2 separate regions of the Homo sapiens genome follow, and region 2 is linked to region 1. The links are contacts of gene promoters, found by promoter capture Hi-C in human tissues and cell types (Jung and others, 2019). All regions are on one chromosome and are shown on one strand. The core of a region is centred on a gene start or on the middle of the fragment in contact, and the rest is flanking DNA. Distances in the headings are between cores, read along the strand shown. Region 1 holds the start of ITPKA (inositol-trisphosphate 3-kinase A). Region 2 has its middle 34 kb from the start of PLA2G4E.

Region 1 (5,339 bases), core at 2,555-5,054:
GCACCTTGGGAGGCTGAGGCAGGCAGATCACCTGAGGTCAGGAGTTCGAGACCAGCCTGGCCCATTAATGTAGTGAAGCCCTGTCTCTACTAAAAATACAAAAAATTAGCCAGGCGTGGTGGCACACACCTGTAATCCCAGCTACATGGGAGGCTGAGGCAGGAAAATCGCTTGTGCCAGCAGGTGGAGGTTGCAGTGAGCTGAGGTGGTGCCACTGCACTTCATCCTGGGTGACAGAGCAAGACTCTCAAAAAAAAAAAAAAAAATTTTATCTGGCCTGCTTAATGCTTAAGTGTTTGAACATCCCCACCATTTTTTTTTTTTGTGGCACTCAAGAGGCCATCCCTTCCACCTCCATACTAGTCAGTCTGATTTTTTCCACATCCCTTCTACTCAAGCATCAAAGACTGAGAAAAATGAGTCATAAAAGAACAGATGTTCTAGGGTTTCAACGTTTATTCCTGGCATGACTAAGAGGACGGAAGAGCCTGCTGACCTCATCCTACAGCTATACAGGGACTCCCAGGCCTTGCCCCAAGACGTACCCTTATGTTTTCTGACTGTAGTAGGTGGGGGCAGACTCTACCTTCAGAAGGAACTACAAGATGTTTCTTTGTTTTGAGATGGAGTCTGGCACTGTCGCCTAGGCTCACTGCAACCTCTGCCTCCTGGGTTCAAGTGATTCTCCTGCCTCGGCTACCCAAGTATCTGGCATTACAGGTGCCCTCCACCATGCCCAGCTAATCTTTGTATTTTAGTAGAGACGGGATTTCACCACGTTGGCCAGGCTGGTCTCGAACTCCTGTCCTCAGGTGATCCACCCACCTCAGCCTCCCAAAGTGCTGGGATTACAGGTGTGAGCCATTGCACCCGGCCAGGAAATACAAGATGTTAATGAAAGAATTTGAGAACATGAGCGAGGTGGCTCATGGCCATAATCCCAGCGCTTTGGGAGGCCTGGGTGGGCGGATCACCTGAGGTCAGGAGTTTGAGACCAGCCTGGCCAACATGGTGAAACCCCGTCTCTACTAAAAATACAAAAACTAGCCAGGCCTGGTGGCGAGCACCTGTAATCTCAGCTACTCAGGAGGCTGAGGCTAGAGAAGCAGGCTGAGGCTCTTGAAGCCAGGAAGCAGAGGTTGCAGTGAGCCGAGATCACGCCATTGCACTCGAGCCTGGGCGACAAGCACGCAGGAAGTCAGGGGACCTAGCCAGGATACACTGCCTTTTCCATCAACTGGCTGTGTGTCCTTAACCTCCCTGGTGGAGCCACTTAACCTCTTTGGTACTTCCGTAATGTGAATGAGGAGGATAGATGGATATAAGGCCCCTTACTGCTCTAAGAATCTATGGGATTGGATTTCAGTTCAGCATCCATTTCCAGGTTTGCGCTCATCTTTCCAATGAGAGACACCTGGGCAGGTAGAGCAAAGAGCAATTCTCTGGCTGCTGGTATAGTAGACCTAAGGCTTGAGCAAGTGCCTGATACAAGAAGAAAAGGAATTGCCCCTTTTTCTTGGCAGCCAGGACAGAGACCCAGTGCCCAACCTGCTTATACCTCCAACCCTGCCCATCCATCGCCTGACAGACAGGAGTGCAGGACAAGTTCTCGCCCCTCATTGCCCTCCCTACCTTTCCAGTTCTGGCAGTTCCTTGCAGGCTCTCCCCACCTTGGGTTTCCTCCCAGCCCCGTCTCTGAGGGCAGCACCTTCCCACATCCTGACGCAGGTCAGTGTAGCTGTGAAGGAGGCAGAGGAGTGAGTGTCTGAGACACGAGTGATCCAGGTCCTTCAAGCTGCAGAGTACATCCCTCACACACATACTCAAGATTCCTCCAGATGGTTGTCCTAGAGAAGGTGGCGATGTGATTTCCCAGGTTCTCCGTGAAGTAGTCAAGTATTCAAACTCCTCTATGCCCTTCTTCCTCTTACCCCTTCATTCCCTCTATTTCTCCTGCCTCTCTCATTGCCATTCTTTCTTACATTATTTTGCTTCCTTCCTCAGTTCTCCAGGATCTTCACCTATTTGTTTATTTTGAGATAGCGTATGACTTGTCACCCAGACTGCAGTGCAGTGGAATGTCATGGCTCTCTGCAGCCTCGACCTCCTGGGCTCAAATAATCCTCTCACCTCAGCCTCCTAAGTAGCTGGGACCACAGGTGCATGCCACCACACTCAGCTTTTTTTTTTTTTTTTTTTTTTTTTTTTGAGACAAGTTATCACTCTGTTGCCCAGGCTAGAGTGTGGAGTGTGGTGGTGGAGTGTGGTGGTGATCTCAGCTCACTGCAGCCTCGACCTCCCAGGCTCAAGTGATCCTTCCACTTCAGCCTCTCCCCGAGTAGCTGAGACTACAAGTGCACACCACCACACCTGCCTAATATTCTGTATTTTTAGTAGAGACAGGGTTTTGCCATGTTGCCCAGGCTGGTCTCGAACTCCTGGGATCAAGCAATCTGCCCGCCTTGCCCTCCCAAAGTGCTGGGGTTACAAGCCTGAGCCACTATGCTTTGCCGAAGATTCCCGTCTTCCCACTGAACCTTCTTCTTTCCTTCTCCTGGGCCATTCCTGAGCCCTGGCTGAGGGGAGAGAAGGGAAGGAAAGCCCCTCCTGCGGCCATCTCAGCATCCAAGGCAATCCTTCTGGGGCTGCTCTGTCTCCAGGGCCCCAGCCATCCCCAGACACTGAGTGCCTGAGGGGGGACCCTCACTCCTGTGGCACTATGGTAAGATAGGAAACAGTGGCTTCTCCTCAAAGCAGCCTCGCCGGTCGGTCAGCTGACTACCAACATGGGAAGTGGCCGAAGATCCACATGGAATGACACTGATAAGCACTTTGCAGTGTCTGAAACTCTTAAACATCAGTGCTGTCTTCCTAGTTTTACAGACACAACTCTGTGGGTTGGATGAGGTTTTTCTAAATGTACAAATGCAGAAATATACGGAGGGAGTAAAGGGACTGCCTACAAATCACATCTAGAGTGTGGTGTACCTGATTTCAAGTCTTTTATTTTATTCTCGCAGCAACGGGAGAATCCGCAGTCGAGGGAGGTGAAATGACTTGCTGAACGCCACACGGCGGACTCCAAGCCCCGAGCTCCTATAACAGAGGAGGAGGAAGGCGGGCTCAGCTCCTGCCACCCAGCAGCGGGGGAGATGCAGCCCGGGACTAGGCTGGGCCATGGGGACAGATCCAGGCCCCGCCCCCTGACCTTGTTCTCTGCCCGCCGGGAAGTGGGGAACTTGCGGGGAGCAGCCTCAGCTAGTCCCTGGGGCAGAGTCTCCACTTGGGTGCACGCCCTGGGGTGGGGCTTCTTCGGGAAGCCGGGGGCCTTCAACTCTGCTCAGGAGCTCGGGCCGGAGAAAGGCCCCGAGACTTGAAGCCCTTGCCCGGGAGGGATGAACACGCAAAGGAACCCGAGGAACGGGGTAGGGGACCAAGAGTAGGACCAGCTTCTCCTGCGCGGGGACAGGGCCTGTGGAGCGGCCTGGAGGAATCTCTCCCAGCCGCGAAGCCCGGGAAGGCTGCGAGGCCCCAGCGCGGAGCGGCCCCTCCCACCTCCCCGAGGGCAGGCGGAGCGAAGCCTCGGGGCCCGGGCCCAGGTTTTGTGCCTACGGAGGCTGGACTTCCCCGCCACCCCGAGGAGTCACCGAGAGCCTTCTCTCCCTCGCAGGGGCCCTGGGAGGCCCGCGCTTTCTCTGAAAGTGGAAGGAGTGGGCGGGGGGCGCGGCCGAGGCGGGGCGCGGGCGTGCAGCGGCGCAGGCTCCGCCCCGGGGCCGTCTCCAGCCGGGGGCGCCGAGCCGCTCCAGTCCCCGGCGCGCCGCGGGCTGGTGGGCTCAGCGGCGGCGCCGGCACTGGGAAATGACCCTGCCCGGGGGCCCAACGGGCATGGCGCGGCCGGGGGGCGCGAGGCCCTGCAGCCCGGGGCTGGAGCGGGCCCCGCGCCGGAGTGTCGGGGAGCTGCGCCTGCTCTTCGAGGCGCGCTGTGCGGCGGTCGCTGCGGCCGCCGCCGCGGGGGAGCCCCGGGCCCGCGGGGCCAAGCGGCGTGGGGGACAGGTCCCCAACGGGCTTCCGCGGGCTCCCCCGGCCCCGGTGATCCCTCAGCTGACCGTGACAGCCGAGGAGCCCGACGTGCCCCCGACCAGCCCTGGGCCGCCGGAGCGGGAGAGGGACTGCCTCCCGGCAGCGGGCTCTTCGCACCTGCAGCAGCCGCGCCGCCTTTCCACCTCGTCGGTCTCCTCCACTGGCTCCTCGTCGCTGCTCGAGGACTCGGAGGACGACCTGCTGAGCGACAGTGAGAGCCGGAGCCGCGGCAACGTGCAGCTGGAAGCGGGCGAGGACGTGGGTCAGGTACGGGCCGCGGGGGCGGGGCCAGCGCCGGGCGCGGGGGCTGCACGGGGGACCTGGCTGGGTGCTCCCGGAGGACCCGCTCCTGTCCATGCTCCCTCCAGCGGAAGGTCCTGTTCTCGCGGTTTAGGAGGAATCTGGGGGTCAGAGGGAGGCGCCTGGCCGACCTCTCGCCTGGGCAACTTTCACCTCGGCTCCGCCGGCGGGTCGTGGCGCTGGCCCTGGGGCGTCTAAGAAGCGGGGCGAGGAGCAGGCGACCCGCCGCGGGGACTGGGCGAAGCGGGGGTAGCGGACCTTGTTGGCTGTGGGTTAGGACAGGAGGGATCGGAGGGGCTGAGCCTTGCCGGGTGAACCCTCGGAAGGAGAGAGGCGAAGGAGAGTTTCCCTTACCCCCCGCCCCCTCTCCGGTGCCGCGGCCGCACCCCCGCCGTTGCCACGGTTTCCCTCTCCTGAGTGGGAGTGGAGCGGCGCTCCAGGCTCTGCTCGGGAGCCGCTGCCGTCTGCTCCCAGCGCCCGCACGAGGCGTGGACGCAGGGGAGGGAGGGGCGTGGGCCTGGGAGCTCTGGCTGGGAGCGGAACGCAGCCCACCCAGTGCGCGCCCTGCCTCCCATCTTCCCGGCTCGCCGCTCCTGAGCGCGGCAGAGAGGGGCGGTAAACTGAGGCTGCAAGGGGGCAGGATCACTCTGCTAGTCTCTGCCTCTGATAGCCTGGGTGTTCTGGGACCAGGTCTGACCCTCGGAAAACACAGCCCTGGGCACTGTTAAGTCATTCCTGACGCCCGCCACTTAGGGATGTGCGGCTCCCGGGACACCCTCCTTGTTCCCCTCGTTTTAACCAAGGCCAAATACCTTGAATAACTGTCCGTGGTCAGCGCGAAGGACTTTCTTTAGATCCACGTTTCGCAAGTGTCCCTGAGGCCGAGGAAGAGGCGAGGGGCGCCCCCGGCCTCGGGCGTCTGGGGCCTGCCCATAAGTCCGGGTCGGCGCGGCGGGGCG
Region 2 (5,435 bases), core at 2,382-4,881, 560 kb after region 1:
GCCACAAGGGAGAAAGGAAGCTTGACATTGGAAGAAAAAAAGTTATGTGGATGGAGATATGTAGATACAAAGGTGTTTGAAATCAAGCTTCCTTGAAGTCAAAGAGAAAGTTATGTGTTAAGACCCAGAATAATTTCTGATTCAAGGTGAAGTTTTAGAATGTGAGAGGGAGACCTGGATTAGACTAAATATTGATAGGTGATGGTTTATTGTGCAATTAAAAAAAACACAAATTATCAGTTCTTTATCCAGTTTCCAGTGAGAATTACGTTCGTGAATAATCGGTGCAAAATAAAACCAACACCAGCTAATATTTCACGTGGTAAACTTTGAAAGAATCGTATCTTGGGGATAAAAAACCAACCTGGCAAAAAAAAAAAAAAAACCCAAAAACAAACAAACAAACAAAAAAACAAAATTAGACTTGCTAAGCAATAGTAGCCACAAAAGAAAATATACGAAGGTCAAGCTATAATGGAAAACTAGTGAGGATTAGTGAGTGGAATAACCAAGTGTACCTCGGTATTCTCATTTTTCTACATCTTACCTTGATTGTAATTTAAAAAATAAATACAGAGATCAGAATGGGGTCGTTCAAGATTTCTTTTGGTAGATGTGTTTTGTGCTTAGTCAAGGTGAAAGGATGCCCAGGCACTGCCACTCAGAGGTCTCTGCCCTGTCCGGGGCATCTGGGGGGCACCTGGAAGAGGTCTCTTCCTCATAGCTCTGCCCACCCCACTGTGCAGGTGAGACCCAGAATGGACGCTGCTTTGAGGCAGCTGACCAGTGGGATCTGACCTGGAGCAGCTGGTGGTGGCCAGGGCTGAGAGCCAGGATGAGTGTGGAGGTGGTAGCACGCTGGAGAGTGAGCAGAGAGGGCAGCTTCGCTGGTAGACTGTGTGTGGGGCCCAGGCAGGGAGGAGCCAGGCTTCCTTTCCCTGTTCTTGGGACATCCTCTCTCCTGTTCTTTCTTCCTGCCCTTGAAGACCCTCCTGTTGCTTGGGTTATTTTTCTCTCCCGTGGTCTGACTCCAGGACTTCTCCAAGCCAGGAACTATGGTGACAGATAGACAGGCAGACAGGGTGAGAAAGGGGACCCTCTCTGCAGACCCTCAGGAACTTAGTGCCAGGGGAGGGGGCTCTGAAGTCAAGCTTCCTTGAAGTCAAAGAGAAAGTTATGTGTAAGACCCAGAATAACTTCTGATTCGAGGTAAACTTTTAGAATTTGAGAGGGAGACCTGGATTAGACTAAATATTGATAGGTGATGGTTTATTGTGCAATTGAAAAAAACACAAATTATCAGTTCTTTATCCAGTTTCCAGTGAGAATTACTTTTGTGAATAATCAATGCAAAATAAAACCAACACCAGCTCACATTTCACATGGTAAACTTTGAAAGAATCATATCTTGGGGATAAAAAAAGCAATCTGGCAAAAAAAAAATTAGACTTGGGCACAGGGGCAGGAGCAGAGACGAGCCCTCATGTCATTTCCAGATTGGTGTCAGGGAGTATCTGAATGTTTATCCTTTTAAAATGTTTCTAGGGGATGTCTCCAGGCCTTGTTGAGCTTAGTCTCCTGTAAAATTCACCTCCTACAAATTAAAAATAAAAGCCAAACAAAGAATTTTAACCTCAGCTGAAATAACAGCTCCAACAAACATTCTTGCACTGAGCACCATGTGCCCGGAATCCCTCAAGGGCACCTGGCCACTGGTCCTGCCAAATTCCCCACTTCCCTGCCCAGCCAGGCCCTGGGTGGCCCCACAGTTGGCCACTCCTAGAATAGGCTCCACAGGACTATGTGTATTTTTTGTATTTGTTAGTTTTTTTTTCTTATTCAATTCCTAAAATGGAAGATCTACAGGTGGATAGAACGCTCACTAAGTAAGTCCTCAGCTTCCAAAACCTAGAGGCACACTATTACCCTACACATTTAGTTAAGGGAAAATGGAAAGGAGAAAAGGAGGGAGGGAAGGAGGAGACAGAGGAAAGAAAGAAAAGCAAGGCAAGGCCTGGAAAGATTTGCAGAAGTAATGACAGCTTTTTTCTTTTTTTTTTGGAGACATAGTCTCACTGTGTCACCCAGGCTGGAGTACAGTGGCATGATCTCAACTCACTGCAACCTCCAGGTGCCAGAGATTCTCCTACCTCAGGATCCCGAGTAGCTGGGATTACAGGCACATTTTTATATTTTTAGTAGAGATGGGGTTTTGCCATGTTGGCCAAGCTGGTCTCGAACTCCTGACCTCAAGTGATCCGCCTGCCTGCACCTCCCAAAGTGTTGGGATCACAGGCGTGAGCCACCGCACCTGACCAGTAACGACAGCTTTTAATGGTGAAAAACAGAACAAGCTGAGAAGGCTACAGTGAGGACTGGAATGTTGGGCTCTGATGTGTGGCTTTGATGTGTATATGTTTGAGCTTCTCCCTTTTTTACATCCCTGGGGAAATTTTAACTTCATTCTGTTAAGCTTAAATGCTTTTATGAGAAGTATCCTAATTTAATAAAGTCTTATCTAGAAAACGTTTTATGAAAAATACCTAAGATGTAGAATAGGGAGTAGAATAGAATCTGGTGGGTAAAAGTGGGCTGTATACATAAGTTTAAAGAAAAGAAAAAGAGAAAAATGTATTTTCTGGAGCAAATTCAATTAAGCCAATTTAATTTCTTGATCTTCTTGATTATTTTTAATAGAATAATACTTAGCAATTTCCAGTTTTGCTGCTTATCTTCGTTGGGACCAAGTCTTTTCCACACACCATGAAATCATACCCTTTATGATGGGTTTTACCTTTTCTTTGTGGCCGCTATCTCTTTACAAGTCTAATTTTTGCCAGGACAATTTTTTTATTCTTAAGATGTGGTTCTCTAAAAGTTTATCATGTGAAATTTTGGTTGGTTTCATTTTGCATTGGTTATTCACAAAAGTAATGTTCATTGCATTGGATAAAGGACTGATTATTTGTTTTTATTTTTTATTGCAAAAAGAAAACATAAAGAAAAGGCATTTTCCATGGTATGGTTAAAATGTCAGGAAGCTTTGTTACATTAAAATAGTTGTTTAAAATGTGGGAAAGCCTACAGATAGAAAAAAAACAAACAAAAAACATCCTTAGTTTCCAGGGGCAGGATCTTTAATAAGGAAAGATTTTCTCCAATAAGAGAGGCCCTTCACGGGAAGAAGAGTGGGGAGATCACATAGGGAAAGGGGCTGTTGGACACACCAGAGATCTGAAGCCACATGGGAAGAACCATCCCACTGGGGCCTAAATTAAAATGTCCAGATTGGCTCTGGGCACATTTAACTAAATGTGTAGGGTAATAGTGTGCCTCTAGGTTTTGGAAGCTGAGGACTTACTTAGTGAGCGTTCTACCCACCTGTAGATCTTCCATTTTAGGAATTGAATAAGAAAAAAAAATTAACAAATACAAAAAAATACACATAGCAATTAATGTAGGTTGTTTACACATGATAATGTATGAGACCATCATAATGGTTATGGTCTCATATCATTAGGAGGACTCTATTCAAGAAAGGAGGATTTAACAGAGTATAGCTGGGGACAGTTAGTAGAAAAAATAAAATTGTTTCATGTTTGCCCCCGGAGTGAGCTGAGGCTCTTCAATGAACTGGTTCAGGTTGTAAAGGACATGGAGTAGAGACCGTGCCTGGCAAGACCCCAGGGACAGCAGCTGCTGCTACCACCCTTAGGTACAAGCAGGATCTGCCCAAGGCACTTGCACTTATGTTTCAGGGAGCAAAAGTCTATTTAATTTTGCTCTACAAAAGGGAGATGGGGCTTTATCAAAAGGAGCTGATTACCTTCAGCCCTGGATCCAGGTGTATCTCCTTCCAGGTCCATGGAAGACATACTGGGTGACATCAGGAAGACATGAGAGGCTAGGCTCAGTGCCTCTCCAGTGGTTCCTGATTCAAAAACGGATGGTGCCCACCCACCCAGGAGGTGCTGGGGTGCTGTGGGAGGGTGGGGCTCCCACAGCTCTTAAGAGTATTATTGGCAAGTTATCCAGTCTTTCTGAGCCTTAGTTTCTTCCTTGGTAAAACAGGGATAATAATGATACCGACTTTATAGAAGTGCGAGAACTAACGCCTGCCAAATAGTAGGGCACAATTAATGTTAGTGTCTTTTCTGCCCAATTGCCCAGTACAGAAAGTGTTGCTTCAGTAACCTAGGCGAATGCCAGGACTGATTCATAGGAATATCATAGATATATTCGCAACGTCTAAAATGATCTCGTTATAACAATGATCGTTTTTACAAAAATAAGATATATTGACTGTTTTGTATCCCATGAAGGTGAGGGGAGGGATTTTCCTAACTTTCCTTCCAGAATCCGCTATTAGGGTGATGGACTCAGCACCTTTCTGTCCTCCCCTACCCGTCTTAAGAGTTCCTCGTCACAGAGTCGGAAATGGGGATAGAGCTTGGCCCAAGTTAGAATTTCCACCACTCCAGGGGCAGAATGCAGAAAGAAGAGAAAAGTAGCGGGGGGCCTGGCGCAGCTGCTAATGCGGTGCAGAAACTCTTTGAGCTGCCACCCTGGCAGGGCCGGCCTTGGGGGATGTGCCTGAGGATGGTGGGTGAGCAAAGCCACCTGCCCCGGCACAGAGCCTGCGGGTTGTGCTCTGCAAAGCCCTCCCGGTTTCATTCCCAGAGACCGGGCGAGAAAGGGCAAGCCAGGCAGCAGACGCTGGGGGGCGCGTGGCCAGGCTACCCGGATCGTCCAGCGCGACATGGAGTCTGTGTGTCCTCACCAGTGCTGCGTGACAGGAGCCGGGCACCACCGACGCCATAGGCTTGTCGGTGTCTCAGCACTGACACCGTGTGGCCCTGAGAAAAAGCAGTGAGGGGTCCGCAGAAAGTCTTGGAGACGGGAGGTTGTCCCATTTCCTTTCCTCGGGATGTTAATCAGCATCCCTGGGACTTTCCTGGTTATCGCTGATGGCAGAAGTCCAGGAGGGAAAGGAATGTGTCTGAGCTCAAAGGCTGAAGGCTTCAAGACTTAGAAGTCAATTCGATCACTAATGAGAAAGAATGTAATCTCAAGGTGAACTCCAGAGTAGGGAGTGAGTGTGTATCGTGACCTTGGGGGCTAGTCATCACCCCAGCCTAGACAAAGATGATGTAAAACACCCGCGTCAGGGTTGTGACATCCTCCTGACGTCGAGGAGCGACCGCCCCTTCCCGGATGATGTGGCTCGCACAGCTTACACTTTCTCCACCTCCGCTGGCCGTACCTGCTTCAGTAAGTGGCCCTGCCATCCACCCAGTTGCGTAATGGATTAGTCAAGACTCTCTTAGTCATAGGTAGGAGCCAAACTGAACAAGCTGAGGCATAAAAAGCAATTTACTGCCTCACCTAGCTGGGCAAGAGGCCGAACTAACTCACAGGTTTGACACAAGGAAGAT

Evidence for each region. The method cuts DNA at HindIII sites, captures the fragments that hold promoters and counts their contacts. A contact is called where the count stands out against the background at its distance.
Region 2: a fragment that was not itself captured here is called in contact with the fragment with the promoter of ITPKA in region 1 in 2 of the 25 tissues and cell types used here (dorsolateral prefrontal cortex and hippocampus).

The regions. Positions count from the first base shown.
Region 1 is chr15:41,490,070-41,495,408 of GRCh38, forward strand. ITPKA (inositol-trisphosphate 3-kinase A) reads left to right here and starts at 3,805. Exons shown (of 7, transcript NM_002220.3): 1 at 3,805-4,347. The coding sequence starts at 3,859. RefSeq lists enhancers at 234-353, 322-616, 2,707-3,207, 3,208-3,708 and silencers at 3,445-4,064, 4,085-4,264, 4,375-4,424. The HindIII fragment of the contact is 23,030 bases long and covers 1-5,339 here.
Region 2 is chr15:42,052,392-42,057,826 of GRCh38, forward strand. No RefSeq gene overlaps it. Among named protein-coding and RNA genes, the nearest start is that of PLA2G4E, 34 kb to the left of the region's middle. The HindIII fragment of the contact is 6,025 bases long and covers 620-5,435 here.